Linked DNA regions of Homo sapiens: region 2 is linked to region 1. The links are contacts of gene promoters, found by promoter capture Hi-C in blood cells and fetal thymus (Javierre and others, 2016). All regions are on one chromosome and are shown on one strand. The core of a region is centred on a gene start or on the middle of the fragment in contact, and the rest is flanking DNA. Distances in the headings are between cores, read along the strand shown. Region 1 holds the start of HEMK2 (HemK methyltransferase 2, ETF1 glutamine and histone H4 lysine). Region 2 overlaps LOC105369299 (a long non-coding RNA gene).

Region 1 (5,668 bases), core at 1,557-4,056:
TTTTGATAGGAAAATGTTTATGAGACGAAATTAAATTAAAAACACAGGAAATGAAAAAAAACAGAAGGAAACACAGTTGGACCATGTATGGTAAAATTTATAGGTGATTTTAATTTTCTTCTTTATACTTTTCTACATTCCCAATCTTCTATAAATTTAAGCAACTTTAAATGTCTTATGATATCAAATTACTTAGCTAAGAAATCAAATTTAGAGATGATCTAAAATTATGCTGCTTCTACAATTACGTAGTATGATGGAGCAGTTTGAACATGAATAATTTTTAGGGAAGCATAGTTTGTAATCTGAGTTTTTGCTATGCTTAAATACTATAAGATACATACTGTCTCTTTAAAAATTATTTCATTAGAGTTATCATAGTTAACCTGTCAGTGGAAGATCTAGATGAATATGATATACTTACATGTACAAAGCCTGAGGGCCTATCATAGAGGCTAGGAATGCAGATACTACACCAGACCCTGACCCTACTTCCAGGCATATTTCCACTCTGAAAAAAAAATAAATAAATATTAGTATAGTAGAATCAAAATACTCTTCACAGAAAACTCTCATGCTAGTGTTATTTCTAGCATATATATTTCTCTAGCATCATCACTCACCTGCAAATATATGAAAATAGAAATTTATAATTTCTGACAACTACTTTGTACTTAATATTGCATAACTCAAAATTACTAATATTTTGGGTACGTAATATAAGTCCATAAAAGTTATCTATTACCAAACATGGCTTTCAGTTAATTTCAACAAACCATTACATTAAAAAGTATGGAAAAATGTTAATCTAGGGTTGGAAATATTAATGTGAAAGACATCATTCCTTCGCACAAGGAGCTCCTAGCTTAGTATTTCCTAAAATAAAGTTTGTATTATTACAAAATTTATTTTTGAAAAAAGTTCCTCTATCATTTTTAATACCTAACATTCATAGAGCCATCAGTATATCCTAGAGAATTAAAAGGTCCCCCAATAATAGAGCAGGACAAAAATTCTTTTTCTGGACAGCTATATGCTAATTGGGAAAATAGTATCTGATCTTTGAATGTTAACCATCTTAGAATGCTGTTAACTATAAAATCTTCATTCTACTGTACTTTATCTTTCCATTAAATTTATTTTCTTGCCTATAATCTTGGAAGTTGCTTCTTTTTTAGAGACAGGCTCTTGCTCTGTCACCTAGGCTAGAGTGCAGTGGTGCCATCACAGCTCACTGCTGCCTTTAACTCCTGGGCTTGCTCAAGTGATCCTCCCACCTCAGCCTCCCAAGTAGTTAGGACTATAGGCACGAACCACAGTGCCAGCCCTCTATAATGTTATACATGCATCAAAAGCATAAATCATCCCCATTAAAAAGATCAGCTTGATGGCATTTAGGGAAATTTTTAGCACTGAACTCCCAAAACAACTACCCAGTGACAAGCTCCAGAGGTTTTAAACTTTTGGAACCAGTCTACACATCTGACAAGTCTTTATTAGGTGGTAGTAAGGTCTGAGAATCTCACCAGGTGGCTTCTCTTTGAAAATAACTATCATGGTCTCATAAATAATTAGAATTCCAAACTAGAAATAACCCAAGACTTTATAACAAAATCAGCTCCTTTTACAGCATACTTTGCAGTGCAATTTGTGCTTGTAAATCTTTCTGGGCTATCTTGAGAAGAAAAGACAAGTTATAAAACAGTACTGTTCCACTGTATATTCCAGTAGATCCAAAAGTTCCATCATCTACAATGAAAGACTAGTTTAATAAGAGCTGGGACATTTTATACTGGAGAAATATGACCAAGTTTAAGAGGGATAAATAAATACAATATAGATCTTTGAAACCTGAAAGCTGTTTGTTCCATCCTGAGAAAACCCAGTTCATCTTATCTTCAAACAAATCTAACAACCCAAATTCCTTACATTTAAAAATCACAATGTCAGTATTCATTCCTTCTGCTATTAATTTAAAATTGATGGCGATCACTTCAATAAATCCATTTAAATAAAGTGCTAGGGTAGACTATTGTCTGCTAGCTGCATGTAACTTTTTTTTGGTAACAATTAAATGAAAAATTCAGTTCCTCAATAGCACTAGCCACATTTCAAGCGCTCTGTAGCCACATGTGAGGACTGGCTGGTGCTAGAGTATGCTATTCAGTGGGTTTAAAAATATTTCCCCACTCCAGTAACACAACTTTCTTTCATGTTTGTTAAGGGTGCTTTCTATGTGCTGAGTAAATCAAATAATACCATGCAATTTTAATATGTAATACTTTAAAAATATTAATAAGCAATGTTTCCGGAATATTTTGTTTCCAAACGTGTTATACTATCGCTTCTCTCAGGGACATGTGTTCTTCAGATTAACAGGCGACAGGAAAAGATACGCCTTTGCATGGTAAGCAGTCAGGGAGCTCATGAGACAGAGCAGCCCCCTGGCAAAGGAGATGCGTCCCCGGCACACTCATTACTTGTAGCTACAGGAAAATTCTCAATTACGGCGTCCTGGCTGTCAATCATCTGCAAGTGGACCCCGCCTGCTCCGGCTCAGGGCGGTGATAGTCACCGTTCCGGCCCTCCTCCACCGCACTTCTTCAGAAAGCCGCAACCCTTTCCCGTCAGAGCCCCTCCCCTCCTCGCACCCTGCCAGTTCGGCAGCCGCTGCCTCCAGCGCGTCCAAAAGCAGAAACGTGTCCTCCGCGGGCTCGTACACGTCGCTGAAGGCGCCGCGGCCCACGTGCCCGTGGAACGGCGTAGCGAAGTTCTCCCCTGCCATAGTCCTTCGCTGCGTTCCATGCGCGTGCGCAGGGCGTGCGCATGCGCATGCGCATGCCCTCACCCTCATGCGCAGGCCTAGGAGTGGGGCTGGCGTCCCGGGCGACCAGTGTGTTGTTGTTGGGTCTTAATTCTAAATTTGTCAGTGGCTCTCCTTGAAATTGCTAAGTAGACAGTTGTATAATCCGTGACTATTGACATTTGCTTTCTTCTTTGGAACATTTAAATTTTATTCTGTGAACTAGAACCTGATAGTGGGCATTCTGAGTTGTTTTTGACTAAGGTGAATGTTCTTTCTTCATTCTAATGATATTTGGAAATTCTGTTTTATTCCTAGTTTGCAAGGATTTGAAAAAATACATAATAAATTTTACTGTTTTTTTGTCAGCTGAACTTTAAGCTTTACGCTATAAAGATGAAGACTTTCCTCGTTTTTTTACTGTACTTTATAAATTGCCTTCCTGATGAATCATGAATGCACTCTTTTTATAAACCTTAAGCAAGATGATGCGGTTTAATACACTGCTGAATTGGGGAGGCTAATAATCTGGCTCCGTTTTTTTTTACCAAGATTACGCTACCCTCGTTATGTGAGTTAGGACACTGTTTCTGGAACATTAGGTAGAAAGCCTTAAAACTGGCTGGGCTTGGTGCCTTTTTGAGTGAATGGATCTTTGATGTTTTGGAACATCTGTAAGTTATTAGACTATTCAAGTATTTGCATTCTTTTTGAGTCAATTTCTGAAATTTGTTTCGCAATGAAACATTTTTACAGCTCGTTTTTTAAATTTGAGAAATAAAAATACAGAAAAGTATTTGAGGTACAAATTTTATTTTATTTTATTTCTACTTATGTATTTTTTTTTTTTGGAGACAGAGTCTCGCTGTATCCCCCAGGCTGGAGTGCAGTGGCGCGAGCTAGGCTCACTGCAACCTCTGCCTCCCAGGTTCAAGCGGTTCTCCTGCCTCAGCCTCCGGAGTAGCTGGGATTACAGGCGCCTGCAGCCACGGCTGCCTAATTTTTGTATTTTTAGTAGAGACGGATTTTCCCCATGTTGGCCAGGCTGGTCTCAAACTGCTGACTTCAGGTGATCCACCCGCCTTGGGCTCTCAAAGTGCTGAGATTACAGGTGTGAGCCTTTAACGCACCCGGCTGGGTTACAAATTTCAAAACCCCAAGTTTTAAACCCAGAAATGACAGTATTTTCTCATGTTTCCTTAAAATATTTTTTAAATACAAGAACTAAAATATTACAAATAAGATGGATGTTCTTTCTCTATTTGCCTTCAGTTTAATTGTGTAACATTCTCTCCAAGGCTCTTATGGATTTAGTGTATGTCCATCTAATCCATGTAAAAACATGGATCTTGTATTTATACGTTTATAAACATTCATATCTTTATAAGCAACATACGGTGTATTTTAAAATTTACATAACTGGTACTAGGTTGGACATATTTTTCAAATTTCTTTTTCAGTCAACATTATATGAGATTTATGTTTTGATATATGGTTAGGTTACTCCTCTTAACTGCCATATAGAATTTTATTATGTAAAAATATGAAAAATATATATATATAGAAAGAGTTGTACTTGATCTCCTGGGTTCAAGCGATCCTCCTCCCTCAGCCTCCTGAGTAGCTGGAACTGGAACCATAGGTGCTCTCGCACCCAGTATTAGGAATATACAAATGTCTTTTTATCCAAAAATACAAAATAAATTATCTGTAGGCATGGACAGTGACAGCAGTAAAACATTATATATTTTGTCACTTGAAACCAGTAACTGATTGTTATAGTGATTTCCTAAACATCTGCTAGCCTTTTCTTCAGTCGTTTTCTCCAGCTGACTTCTCTGAAGTTATTGGTGAGGAATACTGCCTTGGGCTTCCTGCCACAGTTCATTAATTAAAGTAAAACGCTATTCTAATCATTAGAACTTGCCATTTCCCATAACACCTCCCGTTCCACCCATTGCACCCAATACAGGGTCCTTCTCTTTTTTTAGGAATTTCTTTGACTACAACTTCTGCTGTAGTTAACAGGCCACCCCAGCAGCATCCAGTAAAGCACTTCTCACAACCTTTGTTTTGTCAATAATTCCTTTTTTCCACCATATTCACAAAATCTGACCGTGGCATCACAACCAGCTTCTCAGGAACTGCATAATTTTCTGGACTATCAAAGATCCTTCAACACCCGCATTTTTAGCAATAGTCATTGCAGGAATTTTGAGTGTTTTCTTAATAGTTTCTGTACCAATTTTTTGATCTTCATTAGCTGGAGTCAATGAGTCCAAGGCACCAATTCATCGAAGTAGGGTACAACCCCCTCCCAGAACAATGCCTTCTTCAACAGCAGCTCTTGTAGCATTAAGGGCATCTGTAACTCTGTTTTTCTTTTCATTCACTTCAACGTGACTTGTCCCACTAACCTTCAGCACAGCTACTCCATCTGAAAGTTTTGCCAGCTGTTCATTCAGTTTTTCCTTTTCATATTCACTAGTTGTGACATCCAACTGCTCAATGATTTCTTGAATACGTTTTTAAATTTGAGCCTTGTCACCTTTTCCTTTTAAGAGCATAGCATCATCTTTGATCACAGTGACCTCTCCAACTTCTCCTAAGTCATGAGGCTGAACATCTTCAAGATTTGAGGTCAACTCCTCTTCTCCAAACACTGCACCACCAGTAGCAATTGTCATACCTTTAAGGTGGTTCTTTCTATTGTCACCAAACCCTGGAGCTTTGACTGCTACAACCTGAAGACCAAGTTTTCGCCTATTCAAAATGAGTGTACTTAGAGTTTCTCCATCAACATTTTCAGCAATTATGACCAAAAGCTTACGGTGAGCATTGGCAATTTCAAGATCAGGTACAATG
Region 2 (5,668 bases), core at 2,370-4,869, 410 kb after region 1:
CAAAGTATTTTATCCATGGGTACTGTCCTGTGCATTGTAGAATGTTTGGCAGCATCTCTGGCCTCTACCTCCTAGAGGCTAGAACCACCCACCCCATAACAATATCTCCTGCTGCAGGGGGTGGGGGGTGCAAAATTGGCCTCTATTGAGAACCTGAATGAGAACCTGATTGAGGACACTGAATGAAGTGTTATATGAAGAGGTGAAGTAAAAATATGAGTCAAAATATGGCACCTCTCTTGGTTGTGCCAGTTTTGCATTAAAAAATGGAGAATACATTTATTAAAACAAGTATGTTATAGAGTAGCCTTTACTACTTCCAGAACGTTTCAGAATAAAAGATCAGGAGCTGCAGGCTACAATCCTTGGTGTAAACACGAACAAATACATAGAACAAAGCTATCAGACTGGATTTTTCTGTCTTTTGCAGACGTGTGACTATGGTTGAAGGTGCTGTCTCTGATTCAGTACCAAGCATAAGCATCACTGACTCTGCAGGAAGGCACTGGCACCAAACATTTAGTAACTTTTCCGCAGGCTTGAGGGATTGGTTACATGAAGCTTTGGGCAGTCTTCTGTCACCTTTCTGGCTGGAACTCTACTTTCTTCTCCCCTCACTCCTCCCCAGTTGGGTGCAGAGCAGTCAGGCTACATCCAAGATTCTGAGGGTCTCACTTTCTATCCCCAGACATTTATATGTATGTATATGTGTGTGTATACATATATTTGTGTGTGTGTATATATGGTGATAAATGTATAAATATTATTATAAAACACTTAAACATTTATTATAAACTGTTATGTTAATATAAAAAATATATGTATGTACATATACATATAATACATATAAAAACACCTTGCAGCATTAGCTTATGAGAGAAGAATTTCTCTACTTCATTAAATAAATATATGTAACAGAATGAGAGAAAATCTGTAGCACAATGAATTCTAATGGAGGACAATTTCAAGTGTCATTTTAGGTCTAGGAGCTTGACACAGGTTTAAAATGAAACAGCCTTTTTCAATATTTTCTGTTTTATTTACTGAACTTTCCTCTAAGTCATGATCATTGGGGTTGTGGTTCTTCTTACAAAGTTAACTCCATTTTCATGCTCCATTTTAATCATCTGATATTTTATTTAATCTTGATTTTGGTTATCTATTGCTATATTAAAAAAACTGCAAAATTTCATGACTTTAAACAATAATCATTTTACTATTTCATAATTCTATGTGTTGGCTGGGCTCAGCTGGTAAGTTCTTTTGTATAGACTTGACCAAAGAACATCCTAGATGGCTCATTCACATGACTGGCACTTGATGCTCAGTACTGGCTGGTTGCTCTGCTGGGGCTCCTGAGTGAAGAGGCCACACATGCCCCATGCATGGTGGTTTGGTTCTGAGAGAGGGTGTCCCAAGAGAGCTCATTTGAAGAAAGAGGAAGTAGAGGCTAACAGTCTTCTAAAAGACTAGAACCAGAACTGGCAGAGCATCACTTCTGCAGTGTCTTCTTGGTGATGCAGTCACAGGGCCAGATTCAAGATGATGAAAAATAAACTCCCATTCTTGACGGGGAAAACGATAAAAATTTTGTGGCCATCTTTAGTCCACTGCAACCTCCTACTGGTTTTCAGAAGCGCAATTTTTTTTGGATATTTGGGCCACTTTGGTTGTCATTAAATCTGGTATCTGAGCAGCACCTCTTTCACTGATTTGGCCCCTGTCCCACTGAGTTCTTCTGCTTCAAAACTGGCTATTTCCTTTTCATTTTTCTGCCTTTATCTTAATTTTACACTTTGTAACATTTCAAACCAGAGGCTACACCTCATCTTTGATTTCAGTTATCAGGTAAACATGAGGGTGTGTTTACTCATCTGCTCCAGGAAGTTCTCATTGTCTTCTAATAAAATATGTTCATTTTCCATAAAACTTTCCAACCTGGAGGCAGGGGTGCTATGACTTTAATCCATAGTCACATCTCAGGGTACAGGTGTCAAAGAGCAGTTGTTCAAGTGGGAGACTTGTGTTGATCTGGGTAATCCCCCACCTTTAAAGCCTAGTTGTTTTGCCCCACCCCCCCTCCAATATTTTCTTGACTTAGTGAGTGAATACTTAAAGACAAAAGGAGCTAAGGCAATGAAGATGGAGGGAATGAAGTTCTGGGAAGGCTGGAGGGGTATGCAGATTTGTAGGGGTTACAGATGTCATGCTGCATCTGTGGAAATGAGGATTCAAAACCAAAGGTGGGTAGGGAATAAATGTGGAAGTGTGGATCTTTCCTGAGGTTAGGGAGGAGGACAGGGGACAAGGGTTACACTGACTACACATCAAAGTTTTTTCAGGATATGTATTATGTCTTACTGTCCAAATATTATGCTATGGTGTTCCTTATAGCCATGAACATGTCACCTATCTGTATGATTTAGCTCCCTCATTTTTGAGAGTCAGGCAAGACAACCTGCTATTAGAGGAGAAAATGATGGTGTTTGTATCTAGGTTTTATTAAAAATCATTCCCTAACTATGGCTTATAGTTATTTAAATTGTTTTCAGAGTTAATGATAAGATTTTATTTTGGTAATAAAATCAGTATGATGGCCAGAAAGAAGATATGAATGTTTGGAAAAATTGGAAATATCATTTTTGAAAGAAATGTGACAATGCACATATATAACATCTTGCGAATGGTATTGTATATCACCAAACCTGCTCACAGCAGGAAAACTAGCCATCACTTCTCACAGTCAATGAGAAGTATAAATCAAGGACATAGCAGTAAGCTGTGATACCCAAGCTTCACGGATAAATTCTCCTAAAGAATAATGCACTAAAAACAAAACTACATGACAAAAAAAAGCACTAATTGCAAATCACTGTGAAACAGTAGCACAAAATCTTTATATTGTGCTACTAGTGACAGCAACAGAAGACAGTCAAACGCCTAGGCAGATAGAGGCAGGTCCCCGGTGAAACCCCACCTCCAAGCTGAAGACAGTTTAAAGCCTGAAAGCCAAACTACAAGTTAAATTTTCAGACTAGATTGAGAACTTGTCTTCCTGTTTGGCACGCTTTCCTCTGATCTCCACCCTTCACCTATTTTACGTATACTTACCCTTTCTAATTGGTTTTCTACACTGTCGTGCCTGCCTTTGAGTGGTGTCTTTGCTTTAACCTTTTTTTGCAAACTCACAAACCAATCAGCATGCACTCCCCATTCTGAGTGCATAAAAGCCCCAGGCTCAGCCACATGAGAGGGGATTTTCCCACTTTCGGGTAGGGGAACTGCTCCCAGCATTCGCTCTTTGCTGAGAGCTTTCCTTTTGCTTAATCAATTCCACTCCACTCACTTTCCGGTGTCTGTGTGCCTAGTTTTTCCTGGTTGTGAGACAAGAACTTGGACCTAGCTGAGCTAAGGAGCAGAAAGACTGCCAAGACTAGGCTACTTGTCCCAGTTTCAAACTATTATCAATACTAATTGAAAGCAATCAGCTGGGAGCGGTGGCTCATGCCTGTAGTCCCAGCACTCTGGGAGGCCAAGGCAGGTGGATCATTTGAGGTCAGGAGTTTGAGATCAGCCTGGCCAACATGGTGAAACCTTGTCTCTACTAAAAATACAAAAATTAGCTGGGCTTGGTGGTGGGTGCCTGAAATTCCAGCTACTCAGGAGGCTGGGGCAGGAGAATCACTTGAACCCGGGAGGCAGAGGTTGCAGTGAGACAAAATCATGCCACTGCACTCCAAGCCTGCGTGACAGAGAGAGACACCATCTCAAAAAAAAAAAAAAAAAAAGCGATCAGAATTTTTTTTCTTGGTCCCCAAATCTCAACATTTTTTTTTCCCAATAGGAATTAGGTAGAAGCACTATGTCTCATTATAACCTCAAGATAATTTTTAAAAATCTGTTTTAGTAATAGATTTTAATAAACATATGAGTTAGTATAAAAGATCTTGAGGCTGATGTTCTTCAAAGTTGACCATGATGTAGCCACTTTTCTTGATTCCGAGTATTGCAGGATTACTCAAGGTTTTGTTGGCCTGGCAGCTAATAATGTTAATGCTAACTCTGGAAGTCCAGAAGACATAGGTCAGAACATACAGTTGTTTGTGAATATTTACACTGACATACAGGTTTTAAAAGAAATACATTCTAAGTGGTTTTGGTTCAAAGCAAGAGAATACTGAAAACAAAAAGTGCCACATCTTTCACTGAGCATTTTACTGCATTCATTCCTTCATTCAACCTACTATCTGTTTCCACTCCCATTCCTTCTCAATACTAGAATTAGCTTTTAAAAATAACCACATGACTTAGAAACCTCTACTCACTTATTGCAGACCACGGGATGAAGTCCAAACTCCAGGTGCTGTGCATGAGGCCCTTCTCATACTGACTCGGTTTCATTTCATTCTCCAGTTTCATTTTTCGTCCTGTCCCTACTACATGCCATAAGCTTGAAGACCACATGCTTCAGTATTAAAAATGCAGACCCTTAGGTCCTACTCAGATCTACAAAATTAGCATCTTTTGGGGGTGGGACCCAGGAATCTGCATTTTTTTTTTTTTTTTTTTTTTTGAGATAGAGTTTTGCTCTGTCGCCAGGCTGGAGTGCAGTGGCGCGATCTCAGCTCACTGCAACCTCCACCGCCCAGGTTCAAGCGATTCCCCTGTGTCAGCCTCCTGAGCGGCTGGGACTACAGGCGCACACCATCATGCCTGGCTAATTTTTTGTATTTTAGTAGAAACGGGGTTTCACCATGTTGGGGTTTAGTAGAAACGGGGTTTCACCATGTCGATCTCCTGACCTCGTGATCCGCCCGCCTTGGCCTTTGAAAGTGCTGGGATTACAGGCATGAGCCACTGCTCCCGGCCGGAATCTGCATTTTAACAAGCAAACCAAATATTCTTCCCCATAATGAAGCTTGAGAGTCACTCACTTGACTTGATACTCTTAGCACATCTGTATACCTTTGTGAGAACTTCTCAAATAATTAAACCTATCAGGGCATACATCATAATTTTCAGGCTAGAAAATGTCACTGCTATTATCTAAAGAAGCAAGAGTTCCTCCCAAAGAGGAGGGTCTGATCTTCCCCTAGAAAAAACTGCACAGGTGTAGAAAAAACTGCATAGGTGTAGAAAAAAGACACTGCAATTCCACTGGCTCAAGGTGGAAGGAGAATAAAGCCTCGGACACTCCCATGTGTCTGCAAGAACTTCAATCCTTCTTTCATGGTGTATTTCCAAGTGTCCTTTCCTCCTGTTTCACTAAATATCTGCACTCTCACCATGAACTGAGGCAGCCTGGGATGCGAGGTACCTCCTACCTCTGGACCCTATCTAGACTGCTGGGTTCCACTCTTCCCAATCAAGACCCAATGCAAATGTCACCTGCTCCAGGAAGCCTCCCCTAATTCTAGGTCATAATGTATCACTTCACCCCTCGCACTCTCATCCAATTTCACTTGTGTGATTTTCTCATGTATTTTGGATGTAGCTCAAACGTCCCCAAGTCCCACAGCCTGTGGGTGCAAATGCAGTCATGTTAGTCGTAATACCTGAATTATTATCTTGGTATCCTTTTTGCCCCGGGAACTCCAGGGCTGTGTTCTTGTTGCTGGCTCCAAAGCTAACAATAAAATCCCTTCACACAAATCGTCCTTTGGCTTCA

What was found. The method cuts DNA at HindIII sites, captures the fragments that hold promoters and counts their contacts. A CHiCAGO score of 5 or more calls a contact.
Region 2: a contact is called between a fragment that was not itself captured here and the fragment with the promoter of HEMK2 in region 1, in 2 of 17 cell types (non-activated CD4 T cells and activated CD4 T cells). The highest score is 6.6, in non-activated CD4 T cells.

What each region holds. Positions count from the first base shown.
Region 1 is chr21:28,882,561-28,888,228 of GRCh38, forward strand. It overlaps HEMK2 (HemK methyltransferase 2, ETF1 glutamine and histone H4 lysine), which reads right to left and starts at 2,807. Exons shown (of 6, transcript NM_013240.6): 1 at 2,652-2,807; 2 at 425-511. The coding sequence starts at 2,785. It also overlaps the pseudogene HSPD1P7. RefSeq lists enhancers at 2,106-2,665, 2,661-2,720, 2,666-3,224. The HindIII fragment of the contact is 10,284 bases long and covers 1-3,182 here.
Region 2 is chr21:29,292,281-29,297,948 of GRCh38, forward strand. It overlaps LOC105369299 (a long non-coding RNA gene), which reads right to left. Exons shown (of 2, transcript XR_937652.3): 1 at 4,326-5,668; 2 at 3,898-4,062. Among named protein-coding and RNA genes, the nearest start is that of BACH1, 3.8 kb to the right of the region's middle. The HindIII fragment of the contact is 1,657 bases long and covers 2,792-4,448 here.